Linked DNA regions of Homo sapiens: region 2 is linked to region 1. Evidence: promoter capture Hi-C in human tissues and cell types (Jung and others, 2019). All regions are on one chromosome and are shown on one strand. Each heading gives the region's core, a stretch centred on a gene start or on the middle of the fragment in contact. The rest is flanking DNA. Distances are from core to core; before and after follow the strand shown. Region 1 holds the start of LANCL2 (LanC like glutathione S-transferase 2). Region 2 has its middle 34 kb from the start of VOPP1-DT.

The links. Contacts are between HindIII fragments. The study calls those that stand out against the background at their distance.
Region 2: a fragment that was not itself captured here is called in contact with the fragment with the promoter of LANCL2 in region 1 in 1 of the 25 tissues and cell types used here (H1 embryonic stem cells).

What each region holds. Positions count from the first base shown.
Region 1 is chr7:55,364,060-55,366,895 of GRCh38, forward strand. It overlaps LANCL2 (LanC like glutathione S-transferase 2), which reads left to right and starts at 1,278. Exons shown (of 9, transcript NM_018697.4): 1 at 1,278-2,170. The coding sequence starts at 1,967. RefSeq lists enhancers at 1,203-1,392, 2,013-2,472, 2,503-2,742 and a silencer at 1,463-1,882. The HindIII fragment of the contact is 20,479 bases long and covers 1-2,836 here.
Region 2 is chr7:55,605,102-55,608,218 of GRCh38, forward strand. No RefSeq gene overlaps it. Among named protein-coding and RNA genes, the nearest start is that of VOPP1-DT, 34 kb to the left of the region's middle. The HindIII fragment of the contact is 3,413 bases long and covers 65-3,117 here.

The DNA of each region.
Region 1 (2,836 bases), core at 28-2,527:
AAAATATGCCGACTCCTTAAATTGGGTTTCGATTTTTCAGCTTTTGAAAATATTGGTTTTCTTTAGGACAGGTTTCTGTACTTGCCAACAGTTGCCAGTTATCCACCAGCAGACTGCAGGAAGAAGAGACAATCTTCACCTCCCTCCTGGGTAGGGAGAGCTGAGAATTCACTAGGCTTAGCCTAACAAAGCCCGCAGTGGACGTTTCTGCTGTACCTGTCCAAGGCGTGATAGTTCCCCAGACTTTGGGGAATATCACCGTGGGTTATTTTGTCTAGTTAAGTCCCTGTGGTGGGATAAGGATGGCTCCTAGAGCATGTCGGCATCAGTAGTTCCTGGAGTGGATTTTCCTACACCGTCTAGGTATGAAAATTTGGTGGGAGAAAAGACCCCAGGAAAGGGGAAAGCAGGAAAGTGGAGCTAAGGGATGCTGCTATAACACTCATCCTGTTGTATCTGTTCTGTTTCCCTGAACTTTGAAGATAGTTATGCTGAGTACCCCCTTTAAAATGATTTTCTTCTACACTGTACCTTCCCATGGTCATGTTCTTGGTGGGGTGTGTTTCACATGTCCAGCCCTGTGGGGTTGGGGGGACACTAGAAGAGGTAGTGGGAAGCCAGACTTTCCCACATCATTCCACCGAGGCCACGGAGGCAGGAGGAACCGAGCCTTCCCTGTGCTCGGCACTGTGTTTTTCTTCATCATGTCACTTTTTACATTAACGTGTATTTTTGCTTGCTTCCAGAAAAGCACCTACATCAGCTATGCTGTAATCCTTGCTTTTCTCACCCAATAACTGGGAATCCCCAGAGAGCCAAAACTATCTTTTTAATCTCTTATTTCTTCATCACCTAGTACCATTTGGTGCTCAATCAACGTTTACTGAGCGGAAGAAAACGGAAATAAGACATTTTCCTCAAGGAGCAGAAATCATTACACGTATTTGGTCCAAACAAATAAAAATAAAGAGAACCAATGAAGACTGAAGTAAACCACATCACGATTACATAAATGTAAAGATCTGGTTGCTTGTGTCCTTTTTATAATACATACTATGATCTTTGCCAATTAACACTGGAGGACTCTTTCTGGTCGATAAAATGTTTGGATAATTAAGTATGCTTTCATTTTATGTCCCGGTATCAAAGATGTCCATTTATTCAAAACAAAGGGAGTGAACATAAAACATAAAAAGAAAAAAAAAAAGGCCTGTGGCTCCTCCTCCCAGACACCCCCCTCCAACAGTGATGAATAGGAGGGACTGTCTCCCTCCCCCATCCCTCGGAGACTAGCCTTGCAGTGTTTTAGACTGTTTTGAAATTCTGTTCTTTAGAAGAGATTTTTTTTTTCTTCTTAATATCAAACAAAGAACTGCTGCTATTCCTTTGGGCTGGCGCAGCAGGGGCCGGTGAAATGCAGGCTGACGACGGCGCGCCAGGGGCTGAGCTCGCCCCGGTCGGCGACGCGCACACACCTTGAGTGACAGCGACCTCTTCTCTACAGGTTTTCCCCGCGGGAGCGTGGCCCTAGCGGGCGTTCGGTTTTCTTTGGAAATCGCGGAGGGGGCTGGCCGGGCGCAGCGATCCCCACCCCGGGACTCCAGCCCCGGCCGTGCGCGTCGCCGCGGACGGGCTCTGCGGGCCACGGGGAAGGTGCGAGGAGGCGCGAGCAGGCTGTGAGCCGCTGGGCGCTCCCGCGAGCCCGCTCCTCTCCGTCGGGAGCAGGGCAAAGGCGCCAGGAACAGGGCAGAGGCACAGCGCCCACCGCCTCTGCGGCCGCCTGATGTGCGAGCAGCCCGCGACGAGGCAGTGCACGCTCAGACGCCCCGCTCCTCCCGCCAGCGCGCGGCCTCGCTCCTCCTAGAGGACGCTCTCTGCGCGGGCCCTCGGAGGAGGCGGCGGCGGGGCGAGCTGCAGCGCCGGGACAGGAGGTTTGTCCCCGCCCGCGCGCCGTACCGCGGCGGAGATGGGCGAGACCATGTCAAAGAGGCTGAAGCTCCACCTGGGAGGGGAGGCAGAAATGGAGGAACGGGCGTTCGTCAACCCCTTCCCGGACTACGAGGCCGCCGCCGGGGCGCTGCTCGCCTCCGGAGCGGCCGAAGAGACAGGCTGTGTTCGTCCCCCGGCGACCACGGATGAGCCCGGCCTCCCTTTTCATCAGGACGGGAAGGTGAGTCGGCGGCCTGGCCGCAGAGGCGCCGGAGGGGGAGCGCGGCGGTGGTAGCGTCCACCTTCCGCCAGGCGTGACGTCACAGGCGCGCGCCGGGCTTGGGAGGGCGCGGGATGATAGCGCCTAGCACCTGTCTCCGGGCCTTCCCGATGAGCCGCGCTTAGGGTCCGTGGGCTTCAGCTGCATGAACCACGTTCCAGCAGTTCGGCCCTCCTGGCCCCAACGCGCCTTTGAAATACGCGGACAGTGCGCTTTCCTTCTTGGCCCGAGCGGCGCTTCGCAATGCGGGCTTGTGCACTCGTGAGGCCCGCGGACACCTCCCGCCCCTGCGCGGCGGAGCGCTCCGCCGGCTACCTGCTCCTCAGAAGTGGCCTGGAGGCTGGATTTCCTTGGCCATATCTGGTCCCTGGGCTCTCGCCGACAAAGAAGCATTGTCCGTACTGTCTGTGTGCCCAGAAATGGGAAGCGGGTGTAAGGGGAGGCCAAACTTGACTTTCTTAGTGTCGCGAGGTGGGTCAGAGCGTTACATTGACATAAAACAGATTAACAACAGAAAAACATACATCTCTTGAATATGTTTTACGTGAAAAAGACACAAAGAAATGGCAAAACCCAAATACTTTTGTGCTAGGCAGAACCAAGAGCGGCAGCTGTGGGAGAGTAAAG
Region 2 (3,117 bases), core at 521-3,020, 240 kb after region 1:
TGGGATTACAGGCATGAGCCACCGTGCCCGACTGAGATTGACTTGTATGCTCAGAAGTGCATTTGCTTTTAAAAACTTGACATTCAGTATACTTAAATATCTAGGTTTTTTTTGTACTTTTTGTGTGTGTGTGAGACAGGGCCTTGCTTGGTCACCCAGGCTGAGTGCAGTGGCTCAACCATGTTTCACTGCAGCCTTGACCTCCTTGGCCCAAGTGATCCTCCCACCTCAGACTCCCAAATAGCTGGGACTACAGGTATGCACCATCATGCCAAGCTAAATTTTAAAATTATTTCCCTTTCAATTCAAGGGGGGATGGGGTATGTTTTAGAGACACGGTCTTGTTACGTTGCACAGGCTGGTTATGAACTCCTGGGCTCAAGAAATTCTCCCACCTCGGCCTCCCAAAGTACTGGAATTATAGGCATGAGTCACCCTGCCTGGCCTTCTTTGTACTTCTAAATTTAGTTTTAAAAATTCATATTCTATTTTTGTATTTCAATAAAAGATTTTAAGGGGACTTTACTATATGATCTCAGTTTAAAACTTAATTAAACTCTAATATTTTATATTGGATTTATAATATATTTGACTTCCTTTTAAAATACTGTTTTGCAATTGTCTAATATAACAAATATTCCCAAGTAGATAAGCATTTTTATAAATTGAGTAAATTAAGCTTATAGATATGATAAATTTAAGTTCTTACATATTATAATATTAAATATAAATGTCATAATCTTTCAGCTTAAAATTCTAAATCTTTATCAGCTACTAAAATTTCAGTTTTTAATTTGGATTATAGTACTAATACATTAATATATATGAAATACTGATATATAGTTACAATGTTAGGTCAAAATATAGATTTTTTTAACAAAAATTATTAATTCCATGATTCAGATTTTCTTAAACACTTATGTGCCTAATACTAAATCTTGAGGTTAAAAAGATACTTCACAATGAAAGATATTATTATGTTAGCTAAACAATTGTTTGTAACCTGGGATGACTGAGATTTTTATATACAACCAGAGCTATAGACCATGGTACTTACTGCAGTGCTGTCTGAGATGTCAAAAGAATACCAAGCCCTATTAATTATTTAGAATATAGAGGCGATATCCTACTTCTTAGGGCATGTATACTTCACATCGCCTGGTTCAAATCACTACTATTGCTGTGCTGGAGCTGGTCTATTCAGGTTCATAAGAAGTGATTGTTAAAATTTCAGGAATTGTGCAAGCCAATTGTTAAATCTGGCCATTATATAATTATATAAACATACAATTAAATAAATTGTATTAAAAACAAAAAAATAAGTTGGAGATACAGACATGAACAAAACATATGCACATAAACAAAGCAATTCCTGTCCTTTCATTTCAGAGGGGATGGGATATGTTGGTCTCAAATCTGAGCCAAGATTTCTGAACCATTACCATCTCTGTTATAGAGTGACTGGTCCATGGTGGCCCTGGACTGGTTACTATGGGGTATGGTTACTATGAGGTATGTATGGTTCTTCTTGTGTCCTTAAAAGGACAAGTGAGAGCTTCTGGAACCCCAGTACACCACACACAAGACACAGGAATAGGAAACTCTCTTTAGGCTCATGAGGTTGAACACTTTCTACTGCTGCTGGTCCATCATTATTCCACACTATTGCAGAAATGGCTGCATCTAGAATTTTCTTAGCTTTTTGTGCCCTTCATATTCAAGAAAAATTATTCAGACACTGTTAAAAATGGTAAGTGAGATTTATTCAAAACTATTGTAAGAGGGGTCATGACTTAGCAATAAAGAAGAGAAATTGAGCTCAACTCCAAATACAATAAAGACAGGAGTTGGAAGTTACAGCCAACAAGCACAATGAAGGCATCAGTGGATGCAAAACTACTAAAAGGAGAGGGCAGAGGGATTCTTGCTAAAGGCAGGCTAAGGATTTAGACATCAAGGGTGAGAAGTGAAGAACTTGATCAGATATCAAGGGTGAAGGATTCTCACTAAACTGAATTAGCAGGATTCTTATTAAAGACAGACCAAAGTAGAGGCTTAGTCAAGAAGGCTCAGAGGAGCCTAACTAAAATTTGGTCAAGGAGGAAATCTTTGTCACTCGTGCACCCAAGAAAGACAGCCATTAGCCCTGGAGTTCTTGAACTCTCCCATTCTCATCAGGATGTTTCTAGAATCTTTAACAACCACAATAGAAGAGGATAAATGAGAACCCTGGTGCCTAACCTCTTTGCTCTCATTCTGACCTCTTTATAACCCCTTATTCTAGAAAATATGGGATTCATTTTCTTCTTTCATGTCATAACTTCTTTTACCATGGGGCAGCAAGCCTCCTTGGAGAGCCGTCAGAATGGATGAGGGATTTTTTGTTTCGTTATAGAAGAAACTCTCTTTCTGATATCACTTAATATCTGTGAGTTGTGGGAACGATTTGGAACTAATAATTTCTGAAGTAAAAAATGCATTACTTTAAAATCACCCAAAATTATTCTGAATACATATGCATTATGTCTTTAATGCCCACAATAATGATAATATTATTTTGACTAAGGAAACCACAGCTGGAAGAAGTTAAATATCTATCTGGCTTCTGCTTCAAACATAGTTTTTTCTCTTTAGTATAGTATTTTAGAGAATCATTGACACAGTTTCTATTGACTTCAGTATATTGACTAAAAGGCCTTAGCATGTTCATCTTGTAGAAATGTATTTGTAGAAATTTGAAGCTGAAAGTGGTAGTAGTTTCATTTACGGAAAGGCTAGATGGAATGGGAAGGACTTTTGCTAATACTTCAGTGGCAGGATAACTTTCTGAGATATTAATTTGGGTTTTTTTCCCTCGATGTCATGAGGATTGAAACCAACGTAATTCTGTGTCTTTATGTTAAACAATTCTGAGATTAGGCATACTTTCCTGGCTTAAACAATACTGAAAACAAGTAAAAATAACTTAGCTATTTGCTCTAGGAATCACTGCTTTCAGAAATAATATTGTAAACCGACTAAAACAGCTTACCTACCACCCCAAACAGCTTATTTGTAAGACTAATTTCATGACCCTGGCTTTGCTGTACCAATACATTTCAGTCTTGAAATATCCAT